Regions from separate parts of the Homo sapiens genome. Here region 2 is linked to region 1. Evidence: promoter capture Hi-C in 16 types of primary human blood cells and fetal thymus (Javierre and others, 2016). All regions are on one chromosome and are shown on one strand. Each heading gives the region's core, a stretch centred on a gene start or on the middle of the fragment in contact. The rest is flanking DNA. Distances are from core to core; before and after follow the strand shown.

Region 1 (4,834 bases), core at 807-3,306:
TGACCTCGTGATCTGCCTGCCTCTGCCTCCCAAAGTGTTGGGATTACAGGCGTGAGCCATCGCGCCCGACCTACCATGCCTTTTTTTTGTGGGAATGTATTCATATTCTGCAGCCATAATGGAAGATTTCCTTTTTTTTTTTTAAAGACAGGGTCTCACTCTGTCGTTCAGTGCAGTGGCGCAATCACAGCTAACGGCAGTCTCAACCTCCCCGGGTTCAGGTGGCTCTCCCACCTCAGTCTCCTGAGTAGCTGAGACTACAGGCATGCGCCACCATACCCGGCTAATTTTTGTATTTGTTGTAGAAATGGGGTCTCGCCACTTTGCCCAGGATGGTCTCAAACTTCTGGGCTCAAGAGATCTTCCCGCCCCAGCCTCCCAAAGTGCTGGAATTACAGGCGTGAGCCACCTGGGCAGGAGAATCGCTTTTGACTTCCAGAGCAGACTGGGCAACATAGTGAGACCTTGTCTCTACAAAAAATAAAAACTAGCCGGGCGTGGCGCATGCCTGTGGTCCCAGCTTCTTGGAAGACTGAGGCAGGAGGATTGCTTGGGCCCCAGAGGTTGAGGCCGTAGTAAGCCATGACTGTGCCACTGCATGCCACCCTGAGCTGCCTCAGAAGGGAGAAGTTTCTTTCTACTGTTTCTGGCCCCACCCCACCCCCAAGGGCCAGCAGGGAATCCCTCTGGAATTTCCTAAGGAAACTTCTTTTCAAAAGACAAGAACTCCTCCCTAGGAGGCTCATCAAACAACCAGGAAAGATTAACCACGCCAGGACAGACTTTTCACCCGTTCTTCCGAGGGCAGCTGGAAGAAGTCCCTGGACGGTCCTGAAACCCAGGACCAGAAAGATAGGAGGGTGGGCTGAGGACCCAATACCCTGTGAAGTTCCCAAGAGAAGCCTCCACCCAAAGACTGTCTGATAAGGTGGCCGCGCCTAGGGAAGGTAAAAAGAGGGCAGGCACAGTGATTTTTTTTTTTTAACATCGGAGTGTCAGGGGGTTATTTTCTGCTTTGCTCGCATGTGAAATGTTCACAAACGGAAAATGAACTTTTTAAGAAGTGCCATCTAGGGCTCCTTGGAAAAGATGACAGTTAAAACACTGGGTCTTGCCAGGCGCAGTGGCTCAAGCCTGTAATCCCAGCACTTTGGGAGACCGAGGCAGGCAGATACCTGAGATCAGGACTTCAGCACGGCCAACATGGTGAACCTGTCTCTACTGAAAATACAAGTTAGCCGGACGTGGTGGCGGGCACCTGTAATTCCAGCTACTCAGGAGGCTGAGGCAGGAGAATCACTTGAACCCGGAAGACGGAGGCTGCAGTGAGCCCAGACAGTGCCACTGCACTCCAGCCTGGGCGACAGAGTGAGACTCCGTCTCAAAAATAATAGAAATAATGATAATAATAATAATGTGAAGTGGATGTACTGGAGGGAGAACTTAGGGTTGGGGAATGCGGGGAAATTTAGGGATTTACTGCAGCCCTGGGAGGAGCGAAGCTGGGGGACGGGGTCGTGGGTTTGAAACCCAGCTTCCCACACCTTTGGAAGACTCCGAAGGAAACGGGGACCGCCTAAGGGAGGAGGAACTGGGGACCCCACAGGCCACGGCTCCTCCCGCACGAACCCCACACCCGAGGCGGGATTCCCCCTAAGACCCTCCTGAGGCCCCCGCACGATCTGGGGAGACGCGGGGCTGCGGGCGCGGAGCTGCCCTGAGAGGGCTCCGGGGCCGGGACAGGACACCCGGGGTCCCGGCGGCTGGTCCAGCTCCACCCGGCGACCGAGGGGACCAAGGGTCGAGCTGCGCCTGGGGGACTCGGGTCCCAGACCCCCACAGTCGCCGCGGGGAGGCCCAGGTCCAGCCACTGCCGGTTCCGACCAGCTCCTCCTCAGGTCTCCGGACGCCCGGCTCCGCACGCTCACCATTTCCGGCTTCCGGGTGTCCTGGGTCCTTCCTGGGGCTGGAGCAGCCAGAACAGGTCCCACACGACAAAATCAGCCGTATCCGGGGCACCAGGGGCTCCCCGAGGAACTAAAACCCGGACCCGAATGGGGGGCCGGCGGGAAATGAGACCGCTTCGGGCTTTGGAAGTTGCCCCTCCTCCCGGCGCACCTGATTGGACAGTTTGCCGCACAGCGCCTCTGACTGGCTGGTGCCCCAGGTCCCGCCCCTGGGGCTTGAGCGACAGGAGAGGTGATCGGAATCCTCAAATAATCCGCTCGCTGTGTGGGGTGTGACTGACAGGTGCTACCCACAGCCCCTCGCTGGGACCTTGGACCTGGACTTGCATGGAAGCAGAACTTGCTCCCGTTAGGGTCAACCCAACCAGACTGTTCCCCTCCTTCCCCCATCAGTCTTACAATACAGTCCTTTGTGACCGCCACACAACTCCCCCCGGGCTAGAAGTAGACCTCCTCCCCACTGACCCTTCCAGTAACTGTTTGTTCAAAAGACTTCAGCTGAACCGGCAGACAGTTCCAGGATGCGGTCACAACACCTGCCCACCTTGCATAACAAAGCTGGCAAAAACATCTCCAGGATGCGGTCAGGACACCTGCACCCCCGACTCAGTTCTCACACCCCAGCCCAGTTCCTCGCCCTATAAAGCCCTGCTGTAGTCTGTAAGCGGGGCTGCCTCCTCTAACTGTGGGGGAGCAGCCCAGCAGGTTAATAAAACTTACTTGACTGACTTCAGGTCTCTTCGTCCTTTCGGCTGACCTTACAGCTCCTGGTTTTCCGGAGCAGGCCCTGTCGGCTTCCTGTACTCAGTGGGTCCTTCCTGCTGCTTTTTTTTTTTTTTTTTGAGACGGAGTTTCGCTCTTGTTGCCCAGGCTGGAATGCAATGGCACGATCTCAGCTAACTGCAACCTCCGCTTTCCGGTTTCAAGCGATTCTCCTGCCTCAGCCTCCCGGGTAGCTGCGATTACAGGCGCCCACCACCACTCCCGGCTAATTTTTGTATTTTTAGTAGAAATGGGGTTTCACCATGTTGGCCAGGCTGGTCTCGAACTCCTGATCTCGTGATCCGCCGGCCTCGGCCTCTCAAAGTGCTGGGATTACAGGCGTGAGCCACCGCGCCCAGCCGCCTCCTGCTTCTTTTTCCGGAACACCGGTCACATGAGTGTGCACGGAATTCCAGACTCCGTGTTCAGTGAAGCCATCCCTCCACCTTGGAGCTGGAGAGACTCCCAGGTCACAATGGAACAGGTAGGAGGCCCTGATGTCCTCCAGAGATCAGGAATTTATGAGGCTATTGGTCCCATGGCCAAGGCTTCCTACACGTTACTTCTTCTCAGGCTACTCCTTTTCAGCCAAGAAAATAAAAACATGCCTTAAAGGGAACAAAATTATTAAATGCAGGGAAAAACTGGAGTAAACCACTTTTTTTTTCTTTTTTTTTGAGACGGAGTCTGGCTCTGTCGCCCAGGCTGGAGTGCAGTGGCACGATCTCAGCTCATTGCAACCTCTGCCTCCCAGGTTCAAGAGATTCTCTTGCCTCAGCCTCCCGAGTCCGAGTAGCTGGAACTACAGGCATGTGCCACCATGCCCGGCCAATTTTTTTTTTTTTTTTTTTTTTTTGTATTTTTAGTAGAGACGGGGTTTCACCGTGTTAGCCAGGATGGTCTCGATCTCCTGAACTCGTGATCTGCCCGCCTTGGCCTCCCAAAGTGCTGGGATTACAGGCATGAGCCACCGTGCCCGGCCTGGAGTAAACATTCTATAAAGGTATTGCTACCAGAAAGGGGTCCAGTCCCAGACTCCAAGAGCAGAAGCTTGGACCTTGTATGGGAAAGAATTAATATTGGAGAAAAAACTGAAAAAGTAAGTATATCGAACTGTATCATGGGACAGAAACATGTCATTCCTATTTTTACTGAAGATTATCTTATTTGATACTATGTGATTATTAAGTCCTATTACATTTCCTTTCTCCTTTTACGAAGTCATGTATCTTAATAATATGCAGCCGGGCACGGTGGCTCAGCCTGTAATCCCAGCACTCTGGGAGGCCCAGGCAGGCGGATCATGAGGTCAGGAGTAGGAGACCAGCCTGCCCAACATGGTGAAACACCGTCTCTACTAAAATTACAAAAATTAGCCAGGTGTGGTGGCGCATGCCTGTAATCCTAGCTACTAAGAAGGCTGAGGCAGGAGAACTGCTTGAACCCAGGAGGAGGAGGTTGCAGTGAGCCGAGATCACAGCATTGCGCCTGGGCGACAGAGCATGACTCCATCTCAAAAAAAAAAAAAAAAAAAAAAAAAAAAAAAAAAAAAAAAAAACCAGAGCCGGGCCCGGTGGCTCACGCCTGTAATCCCAGCACTTTGGGAGTCCGAGGCGGGTGGATTACGAGGTCAGGAGTTCAAGACTCAGCCTGGCCAAGAAGGTGAAACCCCGTCTCTACTAAAAATACAAAAAATTAGCTGGGTGCAGTGGCAGGCGCCTGTAATCCCAGCTACTCGGGAGGCTGAGGCAGGAGAATCGCTTGAACTCCGAGGGCAGAGGTTGCAGTGAGCTGAGATCACGCCACTGCACTCCAGCCTCCAGCCTGACAACAGAGTGAGACTCCGTCTCAAAAAAAAAAAAAAAAAAAAAAACCAGAATATGCAGTGGGTGGCCGCAGCGGGTCACACCTGTAGCACTTTGGGAAGTCGAGGCAGGCAGATCTCTTGAGGCCAGGACAGGAGTTCCAGACCAGCCTGGCCAACATGGTGAAACCCTGTCTCTCCTAAAAATACAAAAATTAGCAGGCATGGTGGTTCATGCCTGTAATTCCAGCTACTAAGGAGGCTGAGGCAGGAGAATCATTTGAACCCAAGAGGCAGAGGT
Region 2 (4,834 bases), core at 1,125-3,624, 100 kb before region 1:
GGGTAATTATAATAATTTATGTTTTGAGTGATTAAATCATTTCATCTAAGCTGTTAAATTTTATGTGTATAGAGTTATTCATATTGAAGTCCCAACCCTCATTGGGACTGGGTATGGAGAGGGAGATTTTTAAGAGGTAATTGAGGTTAAATGAGGTCATCAGAGTGAGGCCATAATCCAGTATGACTATCATCATGATAAGAAGAGATAGAGGCCAGGCACTGTGGCTCACGCCTGTAATTGCAGCACTTTGGGAGGCCAAGGCAGGCGGATCACTTGAGGCCAGGAGTTTGAGACCAGCCTGGCCAACATGGCAAAACCCTGGCTCTACTAAAAATAAAACATTAGCTGGGCATGGTGGCGCACACCTGTAATCCCACACCTGTATTCAGGTCACTAAGGCAAGAGAATCACTTGAACCCAGGAGGCGGAGGTTGCAGTGAGCCGAGATTGTGCCACTGCACTCCAGCCTGGGAGATAGAGCGAGACTCTGTCTCAATAAATAAATAAATGAATAAATAAATAAAATAAAGGAGAAGGGACAGAGAAACACTAGAACGGGCCAATTAGAAGAAAAAGCCCTGCCGGGTGCGGTGGCTCACGGCTGTAATCCCAGCACTTTGGGAGGCTGAGGCGGGTGGATCACGAGGTCAGGAGTTTAAGACCAGCCTGGCCAAGATGGTGAAACCCCGTCTCTACTAAAAATACAAAAAAATTAGCCGGGCGCGGTGGCAGGCGCCTGTAATCCCAATTACTCAGGAGGCTGAGGCAGGAGAATCGCTTGAACTTGGGGGGCGGAGGTCGCAGTGAGCCGAGATCGTGCCACTGCACTCCAGCCTCGGTGACAGAGTGAGACTCCATCTCAAAAAAAAAAGAAAAGAAAAGAAAAAAAGAAAAGGGCCATGTGAGGATACAGAGGAAGGTGGCGCCATACGCAGAGGGCTCAGGAGAAACCAGCTGTCCTGGGACCTTGATCTTAGACTTCCAGCCTCCAGAACTGTGAGATGATTTATTTTAACTCACCCAGACTCTGGTATTTTCTTATGGCAGCCCTAGACGACTAATACACTTTATTATTCTTTTTATGTCTGCAGGGTATGTAATGATATCCTTTGTTTCTTTTTTTTTTTTTTTTTTTTTGAGATGGAGTCTCGCTTTGTAGCCAGACTGGAGTGCAGTGGCCCGACCTTGGCTCACTGTAATCTCCACCTCCTGGGTTCAAGCAATTCTCCTGCGTCAGCCTCCCGAGTAGCTGGGACTACAGGCACCCACCACCACGCCCAGCTAATTTTTATTTTTTGTATTTTTAGTAGAGACAGGGTTTCACCATATTGGCCAGGCTGGTCTCGAACTCCTGACCTTGTGATCCACCTGACTCAGCCTCCCAAAGTACTAGGATTACAGGCGTGAGCCACCGCGCCTGGCCGATATCCCTTGTTTCATTCCTGACAGGGTAATTTGTGTCTTGTCCTTTCCCCCACTTAGTCTTGCTTGAGGTTTGTCTATTTAATTGATCTTTTCAAAAAAAATCAGCTGTCTGTTTTATTGGTTTTTCTCTATTACTTTCTGAGTCTCAACTTTATTTCTCTTCCTATCTTTATTATTTCTTTCTTAATACTTCTTTTGTTTGGGTTTAGTTTATTAAGTTTGACCTTTTCCCAGGTTATCGATGTGGAAAATTAGATTATCTGGAGACTTAGTTTTTTTCTTTTTTTTCTTCTTTTTTTTTGAGACAGTCTTGCTCTGTCGCCCAGGCTGGGGTGCAGTGGCGCCATCTCGGCTTACTGCAAGCTCCGCCTCCTGGGTTCATGCCATTCTCCTGCCTCAGCCTGGGACTACAGGCACCTGCTGCCACGCCCGGCTAATTTTTTTTTTTTTTTTTTTTTTTTTTTTGTATTTTTAGTAGAGACCGGGTTTCACCGTGTTAGCCAGGATAGTCTGGATCTCCTGGCCTCGGCCTCCCAAAGTGCTGGGATTACAGGCTTGAACCACCGCGCCCGACCAGCCTTTTCTAATATATGAGTTTAGTGCCATCAGTTTCTTCAGTACACTGCTTTAGTTGTGTCTTACAAATTTTGATCCATTGTCTTTTCATCATCTTTGTGGTCAATGTATTTTTTGTTTTCCCAGGGACTTCCCCTTCAAGCTTGCAAGAGTTGGAGATGTTTGCATTGTCTTCACATTATTGATTTCTAGTCTGACTCCATTATGATCCGAGAACACACTCCGTGTAATCTGATTTTTAAAATTTGTTGAAGTTTGTTTCATGGCCTAGGAGATGGTCTATCTTACTTTATGTTCCATGAGCCCTTGAAGAGAATGCATATGCTGCTGCTGTTGATTAAATTACTCTACAAATGTCAACCAGATCCTGTTGATGAATGATGGTGTTGAACTGTTGTCTTTTTTTTAGATTTGCTGCTGAAATTTTCTCTGTTCTATTGTTTAGAGAAAAATGTCAATATCTCCAACGATAATTGTGTATTTGTCTTATTGTCTGTTTCTCCTCTGTTTGTTCCAGTTTTTGTTTCACATTTTTCATGTCTGTTGATTTATGCCTACACATTTAGGACTGCTGGGTCTTCTGGGTGGATTAAGCTTTTTATCATTATGTAATTTCTCTCCATGTCTCAATTTTTTTCTCTGAAATCTACTTTATCCGATATTATTGTAACTACTCATGCTTTCCTTGATTACTTGTATCTTTTTCCAGCTTCTTATACTTTATTTATTTATTTTAAATTTATTTTTGATATGGAGTCTCACTCTGTTGCCCAGGCTGGAGTACAGTGGCGTGATCTCGGCTCACTGCAACTTCTGCCTCCCCAGTTCAAGCGATTCTCCTGCCTCAGCCTCCCAAGTAGCTGGGATTATAGGCACCAGCCACCACACCTGGCTAATTTTTGTATTTTTAGTAGAGCCAGGGTTTCACTATGTTGGCCAGGCTGGTCTTGAACTCCTGACCTCAAGTGATTCGCCCACCCCAGCCTCCCAAAGTGCTGGGATTACAGGCGTGAGTGAGCCACCACGCCTTGCCCAGCTTCTTATACTTTAAATTTACCTTTTTTTTTCTGATTTTATTCTGCTTTTTTTTTTTTTTTTTTTTTTTTTTTTTAGTATTTATTGATCATTCTTGAGTGTTTCTCGGAGAGGGGGATTTGGCAGGGTCATAGGACAATAGTGGAGGGAAGGTCAGCAGATAAACAAGTGAACAAAGGTCTCTGGTTTTCCTAGGCAGAGGGCCCTGCCGCCTTCCACAGTGTTTGTGTCCCTGGGTAGTTGAGATTAGGGAGTGGTGATGATTCTTAGAGCATGCTGCCTTCAAGCATCTGTTTAACAAAGCACAACTTGCACCGCCCTTAATCCATTTAACCCTTAGTGGACACAGCACCTGTTTCAGAGAGCACGGGGTTGGGGGTAAGGTTATAGATTAACAGCATCCCAAGGCAGAAGAATTTTTCCTAGTACAGAACAAAATGGAGTCTCCTATGTCTACTTCTTTCTACACAAACACAATAACAATCTGATCTCTCTTTCTTTTCCCCACATTTCCCCCTTTTCTATTCGACAAAACCGCCATTGTCATCATGGCCCGTTCTCAATGAGCTGTTGGGTACACCTCCCGGACGGGGCGGCTGGCCGGACGGGAGCTGCCCCCCACTTCCCAGATGGGGCGGCTGCCGGGCGGAGGGGCTCCTCACTTCTCAGACGGGGCGGCCGGGCAGGGACGCTCCTCACCTCCCAGATGGGGTGGCGGCGGGGCAGAGACACTCCTCAGTTCCCAGACGGGGTCGCGGCCGGGCAGAGGCACTCTTCACATCTCAGATGGGGCGGCAGGGCAGAGGTGCTCCCCACATCCCAGATGATGGGCGGCCAGACAGAGACGCTCCTCACTTCCTAGACGGGATGATGGCCGGGAAGAGGCACTCCTCACTTCCCAGACTGGGCGGCCGGGCAGAGGGGCTCCTCACATCCCAGACGATGGGCGGCCAGGCAGAGACGCTCCTCACTTCCTAGACGGGGTGGCGGCCGGGCAGAGGCTGCAATCTCGGCACTTTGGGAGGCCAAGGCAGGCAGTTGGGAGGTGGAGGTTGTAGCGATCCGAGATCACGCCACTGCACTCCAGCCTGGGCAACATTGAGCACTGAGTGAGCGAGACCCCGTCTGCAATCCCGGCACCTCGGGAGGCCGAGGGTGGCAGACCACTCGCAGTCAGGAGCTGGAGACCAGCCCGGCCAACACGGCGAAACCCCGTCTCCACCAAAAAATACGAAAACCATCAGGTGTGGCGGCGCGCGCCTGCAATCGCAGGCACTCGGCAGGCTGAGGCAGGAGAATCAGGCAGGGAGGCTGCAGTGAGCCGAGATGGCGGCAGTACCGTCCAGCCTCGGCTCCGCATCAGAGGGAGACTGTGCAAAGGGGAGACGAGGACCGTGCAAAGGGGAGAGGGAGGGGGAGGGGGAGAGGGAGAGGGCTTATTCTAAATTTACCTTTTTATATTGGAAGTGAGTTTCTTCTAAAGAGAATATGCATGGTCATATTTATTAATCAGTGTTGTCAGGCCGGGAACAGTGGCTCACGCCTGTAATCCCAGCACTTTGGGAGGCTGAGGCGTGCGGATCACGAAGTCAGAAGATCGAGACCATCCTGGCTAACACGGTGAAACCCCGTCTCTACTAAAAATACATAAAAAATAGCCGGGCGTGGTGGCGGGCACCTGTAGTGCCAGCTACTCGGGAGGCTGAGGCAGGAGAATGGCGTGAACCTGGGAGGCGGAGCTTGCAGTAAGCCAAGATCTCGCCACTGCACTCCAGCCTGGGCGACAGAGGAGATT

What was found. Contacts are between HindIII fragments. The CHiCAGO score rates a contact against its expected background, and 5 or more counts as called.
Region 2: a contact is called between a fragment that was not itself captured here and the fragment with the promoter of ZNF101 in region 1, in 1 of 17 cell types (neutrophils). The highest score is 5.2, in neutrophils.

Annotation. Positions count from the first base shown.
Region 1 is chr19:19,666,061-19,670,894 of GRCh38, reverse strand. It overlaps ZNF101 (zinc finger protein 101), which reads right to left and starts at 2,056. Exons shown (of 4, transcript NM_033204.4): 1 at 1,929-2,056. The coding sequence starts at 1,931. RefSeq lists enhancers at 1,235-1,800, 1,801-2,367 and a silencer at 1,647-1,846. The HindIII fragment of the contact is 10,038 bases long and covers 1-3,781 here.
Region 2 is chr19:19,769,102-19,773,935 of GRCh38, reverse strand. All of the region lies in intron 1 of LINC00663 (long intergenic non-protein coding RNA 663), which reads left to right. Among named protein-coding and RNA genes, the nearest start is that of LINC00663, 4.9 kb to the left of the region's middle. The HindIII fragment of the contact is 452 bases long and covers 2,149-2,600 here.